Regions from separate parts of the Homo sapiens genome. Here region 1 is linked to region 2. Evidence: promoter capture Hi-C in 16 types of primary human blood cells and fetal thymus (Javierre and others, 2016). All regions are on one chromosome and are shown on one strand. The core of a region is centred on a gene start or on the middle of the fragment in contact, and the rest is flanking DNA. Distances in the headings are between cores, read along the strand shown.

Region 1 (4,607 bases), core at 957-3,456, 110 kb after region 2:
GGCCCAGATATGAAGAAACAAGGAGACAGTCTGGAGATCATCTTTCACATCTGCAGTGTGGTGGCCCAAATCTCTCCCATCCTCTGTACAGTGCTGAGACCCAGAGGAGGGTCATTTGCACCACCCAGACCCAGGCAGTGCAGATCCAATGCCTGCTTCTCCACTTGGGCCCAAGCTTAGCCCCCAAGGCTGCTGCATCCAGAACTGTGATGTTCGCTCATAGTCAATGCTTATTTTATTTTATTTTATTTATTTTTTGAGACAGGGTCTCATTCTGTCACCCAGGATGGAGTGCAGTGGCAAGATCTCGGCTCACTGCAGCCTCTGCCTTAGGTTCAAGCAATTCTCCTGCCTCAGCCTCCCGAGTAGCTGGGATTACAGGCGTGTGCCATACCAAACCCAGTTAATTTTTTGTATTTTTAGTAGAGATGGGGTTTTGCCATGTTGGCCAGGCTGGTCTCAAATTCCTGGCCTCAAATGATCTGCCCACCTCAGCCTCCCAAAGTGCTGAGATTACAGACGTGAGCCACCGCGGCCGGCCAATCTCATAGTCAATGTTAATGGATGCCACTCCATGTCAGGCACTGTGCCTGAGTTGGGGAAAAGAGGCAGTGCCTGCCCTCAGTAAACTCCTAAGTTGGGAGGGAGAAGTGTGGGAGACAGGGATATCCACATGGTGCACTAACTGCTGTGGCTGACATCCTCACAGTGGCTACTGAAGCACCATGGAGTGGCTGGTGACTAGGAAGACTTCCTGAAGACGAGGATGCTACAAATGGGGCAAGAAGGAGTTTTCCTGGCAGGCATGTGGAAGAGATCCAGGCTAAGGACATAGTTAAATAAAAGGTTTGGGGGCTTGAGGGCTTAGAGGAACCACCATTAGGCCAGCATGGTAAAGCTATGTGGGTCACGTGGGCTTGGCAAAAGCCAAAGTGGAGAGGTAGGCAGGAGGCAGATGACACAGAGCCTGTGTTGCACGCAATAGGACTCAATCCCAGGGGCCCTCAAACAGGGGAAGCTCATGACTAGGTTGCTTCCAAAAGCTCATCTGGCTACAGTATGGAGGGCAGACCAGAGAGGACAATCATGGAAGCACTACTGGGGAGTTGGTGTCCTAGACCAGGGAAGTGGCTCTAGGGTCATAAAGAAGGTGATGGATTGTAGATACTTAGGCAATAGAATGGCCAGGATGGAAGCCAGGGTTGGATGAGCGAGGGGGATGAGAAAAGGGCCCAAGTCAACTTTGGGGGTTTTAAGTAGGAAATCCAGCTCCCCCACCACCAGCATCCTTGACCTTGAACCTTGGTCTTCTTTGGCTTTAGTGGCTGCACCTGTAAGGGTGATGTCCAGGGCTTTCCTATATAGATATACTCTCTCCCTGTCATCCAAGGGTCTACTGGGGTTCAAGGGACCCTCCAGGCACCTGTTCTGTCTGCCTGCCTCTCTGCTCTATCTTGGAAATGCATGGGAAAGAAATTCAGAGTAGCCTCTGCTATCCCAGTCCAGGCAAAATGCAAGAACTATGCCTAAGTCCACAGGTCCCTGGGAGGACCTGGAGTGTCAGGGTCCAGGAGTCACAGTGGGGGAACTTCCTGGCTGCGAGGCATCTGGAGCTGCCTGGGCCAGTTACCTTCTATAGAAGCTCACTGCACCCTGGTTCCCCTATCTGGCTGTGCTGGGGCCTCTCCGTAAGTACCCTTCCTCAAGCTGGCCTTACAGCCTTCTCTCTTTTGTTTGGAAAGCCCCACTCACTGCTGGCATGGCTCTTTGGAAGCCCTGCAGGCCTGCACTCAGCCATCTTCCCTAAGAGACACAGGTCTCAGGGTGGAATGGCTTCTGACAGTGAGTGGTCCTGTGTTGGAAAGGGCTGAACCCAATGCACACGTCCTTTAGGCAGCAGAGCCTGCTGCTAGCACCTATGCCACCTGTGTGGGAACTGGAAATAGGAGCCCTCCATTGAAATATTTAGTAAGAAGTGCCCCCTCAGGGATACTCAACTAGAAAAGGCAGCTCTCCTGGTCTGGTGCCAGGAGCAGGAAGTCCATTTAGAAGAGACTCTAGCCCAGGGTATATGCTGGGGCTTTCAGAGCGTGTCTGGATTTCAGTCCCCCTGCTCCCTCAGCCTAGAGCCCTTGTGCAGTGTACAACTTTTACAACCATCAATTCTGGTCCTGGTGGGCCTGGGCTTCTGCCAGGCTCAGCAGATTCTGCCAGGGATGAAGATTCAGAGAGAAGCTACATACAGTGTGACGCCAGAGGAAGTGCAGAGTGATTAGACAGGACTGGGGGCAGGATGCGCAATGCTCAGAGACTTCCTGGGGTTGGTGTTGGCCTGGGTCTTCAGGGGTATGAGTGACTTGGGCAAGGGCAGGTGGGTGTATCATCAGGAGCAGATGTACAGAGGGGAAGTTCAGGGCATGCCCAGGGACTGGGAGCCAGTGTAGTTGGGGCTAGAAGTTTGATGAGGGGAGACTTCAAAATGGGAGGTAGGGGAGGGAAATGCTGTATCCCATGGCAAGAGTGGAGTTGAGGGCCTGGAGGGAAATGCCCCAGCGGGTAGTGCCCCAAAGAAGGCTGGGCTCCAGCAATGGAGGCCTTCTCTGGAGAACATAGACCCAGCTTCCCACCTGGAGGGGCGCCCCTTCAGGGCAAACCTCCTTGGCAGGGTAGGTGGTGGCAGCTCCCCAGCCTGTGCCCTCTGGCCCCTGGGTGGTTGTGCCTTCTGAGGCTCAGCCCCACCTCCCACACCTCAGCCTGGTTCTCAAAGCCTCTTTGTTTTATGGGGCCAAGTGGTGGGGAGCCCGGATCTGATAAGGCTCAGTTGGGTAGATATAGCCCCTCCCTGAGTGCCTCACCGGCCTGAGTCACACCTGCTGCCTGGCACGCATGCACATCCCATCTACCCCAGCTGGGCCTTCTGCCCAGCTGGGCCAGGGTTTGACCTCTGGGCTGGCCTTCCCTGCAGCCTATTCAAGAGCTCTCTCGTCCGTATGGGGAAGCAGAATAGGGGAATTATTACCCACATTTCAGAGATAAGTAAAGCAAGGCCCCAAGAGGGAAAATGCCTTGCCCACAGCCATTTCTCCCATAATCTACTATGCACCTACTATCGATTAGGTGCACTACGTGTGGTATTTACATGATCTTTTCTCATCCTAACAGTGTGTGACATGAAGTTGTTCCTAATTCCTACTTTGCAGTTGAAGAAACAGAGGCCCACAGAGGTGAAGTCATTTTCTTAAAATCAAACATTAGCAGACCAGAACCCGGGTCTCCAGCAGCAGCAAACCAAGGGGATGGGAGGGACATACTCCTCACCTCAGCCTAAAGGACTGATGAGCCTGGGAGTAACCAGAACCCTGTTAGAGAAGGGAGTCCTGGAGGAATAATGTTCTAAGTGCTGTGAGGAGATCTAGGATAGGGTTGGGTGGCAGGGGCGGTGGGGGGGACGGTCAAAATATGTCCACAAATTCTTTGACACTTCTCCTGTAGAGATGCCGGGTCTACCTCAAATCTGATCTGAGGCTAGGTCAGAAAGGCCATGCAGCTTCTGCCTGATTCTACACTAAGACCGCCATGCTGGAGAGTGTGTGCACCTAACCTATAGAGAGGTGTTCCAGTCCATGGTCCAGCTGACATCCCAGCTAACAGCCAGAGCCAATTGTCAGCCATGGGAGTGCGCCATATTGGATATTCAGCCCAGTTGGGTTGGCTGCAGATGGCTGCAGCCCTGGCCAACTTCTGAATGCAACCACATGAGAGACCCCAAGCTAGAGCTACATGGCCAAGCTGCTTCTGAATTCCTGACTCACAAAACCACAAAATAAAATGGCTGTTTGGAACCTTGACATTTTGGAGTAACTCCTTACACAGCAATAGTAACCAGGACAAAGGGCAAAGAGGGAATGTGGACTAATGAAGGCATCTCCTGAGGCTTTCCAGAGCCTCAAAACACAGTTTGGCACAAAGGCTTTTTAAAATGGAGATTGCATGAGCCTGGAGGAGGTGTGGCCTAACCCTTTGTCATCTGAAGGGGCAGCACAAGAAAACTCTGAAATGGAATAAACTCGGGGCAGATGGAGGTGGTGACAAAGGGGAGGATTGGATGAGCGCATCTCTCCATATTCAGTTGATTGAAAAAATCAACTGTACGTCTGCCCTTCTGGCAGGACCTCTGCAGAAGTGAGGAGCTTTGCAGTGATTCTAGAAGGAAGGAAGCTCATGGATACAAGCTTGTGATTAGCAAGAAGTTATACATGGCTGATTGGAGAGAAATGCGATTAGAGATTTTTAAAACCCAAACGTCAAATGTTGAAGAAAGTGCTCAAGGGTTGCAGACAGAGCTGGGAATGGGGTTGGACATGCCTGTGGTCCATTGCTGGTCACATTTGCTCAGAATGTCCCTGCAAGCAGAAAATGCAGGACCTCAGCAAGAAGGTTCAGAAAGTACCCTGTTCCCCTAACAAACTCCAGGTGCATCTGCATCTGGCTTCTGCACACACTTCTGAATGGCCAACTTGGAAAAACTCAGAGGAAAGGAACCAGGTAGGTGATAAGGAATGGGTGTGGCTTGGGAGAGTGGGAGTGTAGGGGTGGAAAGGATAGTG
Region 2 (4,318 bases), core at 1,747-4,246:
AGAAATCGCTTGAATCCGGGAGTAGGAAGCGGAGGTTGCAGTGAGCCGAGATTGCACCACTGCACTCCAGGCTGGGCGTTACAGTGAGACTTGCTCTCAAAAAAAAACCAAAAAAACAAAAAAACAAAAAAAACAAAAATCATTCTCTTGGGTTTTATTTGTTTCCCATTACAACCTGCTTGCCCTGCAATACTCCATGCTATGTGAGCCCCCTTGACTCCTCCTGACCCCCTTGATTTCTTCTGTATGAGACAGGTGGGGTGCTGGGGGTGACCCAGGCTGTGGTTTTGTCTGCTGGATTCTCCAGCTTCTACCTGGCTGACATAGACTCTGGGCGAAATATCTTCATTGTGGGCTTCTCCATCTTCATGGCCTTGCTGCTGCCAAGATGGTTTCGGGAAGCCCCAGTCCTGTTCAGCACAGGTAGGTGGAAGGGAAGAGGCGTTGCTCAGTAGCAGGAAAGCAAGTTGAGGCTTCAGGCTGCCCGGACTCCTGGCCCCACAGCCTTCTCTGGGCTTTGGTGTAAATACTTCATCCATTTGTTTAACAGATATTTATTGAGCACTATGCTAGCCATTTGGAATACAAAGATGCCTTCCGTTATTACAGCGTAGTACAAGAGATGAGATGTGTAGGAAAATAACAGGAAAGGTTCAGATAAAGAGCTACAGTGCTCAGTGGCAAGAGAGATAGCTTCTGTTTGAGGTGATCCAGTAACAGAGCTGGTCTTGAAGGATGGTAAGTTTTAAACATCTTTGGTGAGAAGAAGGTCATTCCTGATGGAGGAACCATCATTTATGCAAAGACACAGAAGTGGGAAGTCTTAGGATATGTCCTGAGAGCAGTAAATTGCTTAATTTGTCTCACCCAGTTCTCAACTGGGTGATTTTGCCCCCATGGGGACATTTGGCAATGTCTGGAGACATTTTTGGCTGTTACAAATGGAGGAAGAGGGAGTTGTTACTAGGGTTTAGTGGATAGAAAGATGCTGCTAAACATCCTACACTGTACAGGACATCCCCCCTGCACCACCACCCCCAACAAAGAATTATCTGGTCCAAGATGTCAGTAGGACTGAGGTTGAAAAACCCAGGATAGAGCATAGAGGGTAAAAAATGGGAGATGAGGTTGGGACTTAAATATTACGCTTTCTAGAGAAAGGGAACCTGGAATAGTCAAAGCATATATGGAGGGTGTGTGGATGATCAGAACACAGGGTGTTGAGCAGGAATCCTGTGGGAAAGGCCTGGATTTGGAAAGTGGAGAGTAGAAAGACAAAGGGTGAGAGGGATGAAATGACAATTCAGAAAGATCTGTCCTTAGTCCAAGGCTTAGGTTTAGGTCTGGGAGGGTAAGACTCCTGGGCTTGGATATAGGATCAGAGTTCCCTTCCTGCCTGGCCCCAACTCTTCATAGGCTGGAGCCCCTTGGATGTATTACTGCACTCACTGCTGACACAGCCCATCTTCCTGGCTGGACTCTCAGGCTTCCTACTAGAGAACACGATTCCTGGTAAGTTGAGGCTAGGCCCTAGCAGACTGGGGAGTGGCCAGGAAGCCATCCCTCCCTGGGATGGGCAATAGCCTGACAAACCTCTCTTTTGCAGGCACACAGCTTGAGCGAGGCCTAGGTCAAGGGCTACCATCTCCTTTCACTGCCCAAGAGGCTCGAATGCCTCAGAAGCCCAGGGAGAAGGCTGCTCAAGTGTACAGACTTCCTTTCCCCATCCAAAACCTCTGTCCCTGCATCCCCCAGCCTCTCCACTGCCTCTGCCCACTGCCTGAAGACCCTGGGGATGAGGAAGGAGGCTCCTCTGAGCCAGAAGAGATGGCAGACTTGCTGCCTGGCTCAGGGGAGCCATGCCCTGAATCTAGCAGAGAAGGGTTTAGGTCCCAGAAATGACCAGAACGCCTACTTCTGCCCTGGTTAATTTAGCCCTAACTCTCATCTGCTGGAGAGTCAGCTCCCAAACTGTTCTTTCTTGTAGGCAGAGGATATGTGTGTGTGTATTACATGGGACTGTCTAGAGGTTCCATTTCCCAATAGGGTGGGTTGCCTTTCCTTGTCTTAATTAGGCCTAACTGTTCCAGAGCAGAGGCCATGATTTAGTGGACCATGAATGATTGAGATTTTGCCTGTGTACTATCAATGCCACTTGAACCCCAGCATTCACTTTAATACTTACTGAGCATCTCCCATGTGCAAGGTCCTGGAACTACAGGGATAAGACAGGGTCCATGCCGTCTCAAGGCATTTACGGTTTAAAAAGACCTTTGTAATTACTAACGAAAATGCAAAGCAGAAAGCAGTCTGTAATAAAGATTAAAATAATGCCGTGGGAGCAAAGAGGAAGGGATAATGAATTCTGATTGGGGACAGTGGGAAAGGCTTTATGCAAGAAGCAATGAGGATGGCCTTGACAAATGAGGATTTTTGGTTTTGGAAAATGGATGCAGAGAAGTTTTCAGGTTCGGGGTCCAGCTTGAGCAAAGCCATGGGTTGTACAAAGTCCAAGATAGGTGAGGGGTTTCAAATTTCTCAGTAGTGAGGGAGTATAAGTACGGGGATGATGGAGAAATGAAGCAGGAGAGGTAAAGGATGAGGTCGGACTATGGGACTTATGCCTGGGAGACTCCTTCCTTCAACAACTCTAGTGCTGGTGGAGGACCTGAGAGATCATCTACAGAAGTTCAATCCCTTATTTTGTTAAAAAGAGACCGGATAGGTAGGGGAGGGAAGAGAAGTGACTCAAGTTTGACAAATCCAAACCTGGGCTCCCCTCTCCTGCGCCTCGCCCGCTATTCTTTCCACTCGGCCAGCGTGACTCCAAGACGCGCCACTACCCTTCTACTAGCCGGCTGCCCGGCCTCTCCTCCACTTACCCTGGCCACTGGGGCGCTCCTCTCATCAGTGTCCCAGGCCCAGAAGCCCCGCCCACGCCAGGCATAGGCCCCGCCCCTGTATCCCAAGACCCTGCCTCCTCTTGCGGTGGGGGGAAAGCGGCCTCTTACTCTAGGCCTTTCGGTTTGCGCGAGCGGGCAGGAAAGCGTGCGTGCGGCTAAGAGAGTGGGCGCTCTCGCGGCCGCTGACGGTAGGTGGAATCGCGTTCGAGTCCGGGCAGGAGCAAGCCAGCGAGGGGCTGCTCAGACGCTGCGGGTTGGCCCTGGCGCTGGCCTTTTCTCCCTGGAGGGAGCGCGCGCTGCCGGGGTCCAGGGCAGGCCTCCGGGGGAGGGGTGGGCGGGGCCGCGCGTGCGCAGTCCGCTGGCTGCTGCCCGGCGTGGATGGTAGGGCTCGAGTGAAGGTACTCGTTGGTCGCCTGTTTGGTGCGACGAAGCCGCTGGTGGCCGGCTTTGTTGCCCCTTGAAGCCGCGCCCCAGTGCAGCCAGTGCTGTAGAAATGGGAAGGCGGACAGCGAAGGCTGTTATAGCTGGGGCGGGTGGAAGCGGGACGCCTGGCGGCTCCTGGGGTGGGGCTATGGTTGTGGTGGGACCTAGGGTTCGCGCTGTCCCAGGGGGACCGGGCGGGGCCCAGCCGGGATGCTCTCTGGGCCTCTACTGCCCTCTGCAGGGCGTCGGAGGAACTGCCCAGAGGGGTCACTGCTGAGGAGCGGACTCGGTGCAGATAAAGGTTCTCAAGGGACCCCTCCGCCGGGATGCCGCTCAGCGCCCCTCCACTCAAGAGAAATAAACCCGTGAATCTCGTTAATGTGAATGTTAGAGGCAGCCTTGAAGGAAAAAAGAAAAGGATGAAGTGTAGAAGCTTCGGACGCAGAACGGGACGCGTGTGGTGGGAGCAGGCAGCCGGGGTCTGGTGCCCAATGTGTCAGGCCTTTTTATAGGGCCCGTTACTCCTGGCCACATTTTAAACTCCTCCCCCTTTACCCAACAGACAAACAAAACCCATCAATTTGAGGGTTCTGAGCTTCCGGGCTTTCCGAAGGAATGGGCTAGAATAGTAAACCCAATTTTGGCAACTGTTAAGAGTACACTGGGGAGTGCCTATAAGGGAGATGAAAGTGGCGACTTTATTCGCGTTTGTGACCTTTGGCATTGTGGAGCTCTTGTCCGGCTAGGACTAGCTTAATCATCCCATGACCACTTCTGTCCCCATAAGAGCAGCATGTGGGAAATGTGACGGAAACACCATCCTCCAAACACAAGGCTTTGAGGATGCCATAAAGAAAGATCACCACGTATATGTATATATATGCATATATATATATGCATATATATATGCATATATATATGCATATATATATGCATATATATATATGCATATATATATGCATATATATATAAAGTTATGTCACAAGTCACAA

Evidence for each region. Contacts are between HindIII fragments. The CHiCAGO score rates a contact against its expected background, and 5 or more counts as called.
Region 1: a fragment that was not itself captured here is called in contact with the fragment with the promoter of NHEJ1 in region 2 in 9 of 17 cell types (total CD8 T cells, naive CD4 T cells, naive CD8 T cells and 6 more); the score reaches 8.1 in total CD8 T cells.

The regions. Positions count from the first base shown.
Region 1 is chr2:219,047,683-219,052,289 of GRCh38, reverse strand. LOC107985987 (a long non-coding RNA gene) reads left to right here and starts at 467. Exons shown (of 3, transcript XR_001739887.1): 1 at 467-846; 2 at 3,163-3,224; 3 at 3,493-4,607. The HindIII fragment of the contact is 4,057 bases long and covers 178-4,234 here.
Region 2 is chr2:219,159,493-219,163,810 of GRCh38, reverse strand. NHEJ1 (non-homologous end joining factor 1) reads left to right here and starts at 2,996. Exons shown (of 8, transcript NM_024782.3): 1 at 2,996-3,091. It overlaps SLC23A3 (solute carrier family 23 member 3), which reads left to right. Exons shown (of 12, transcript NM_001144889.2): 10 at 256-423; 11 at 1,417-1,512; 12 at 1,607-2,346. The coding sequence ends at 1,902. RefSeq lists a silencer at 3,212-3,331. The HindIII fragment of the contact is 12,472 bases long and covers 1-3,761 here.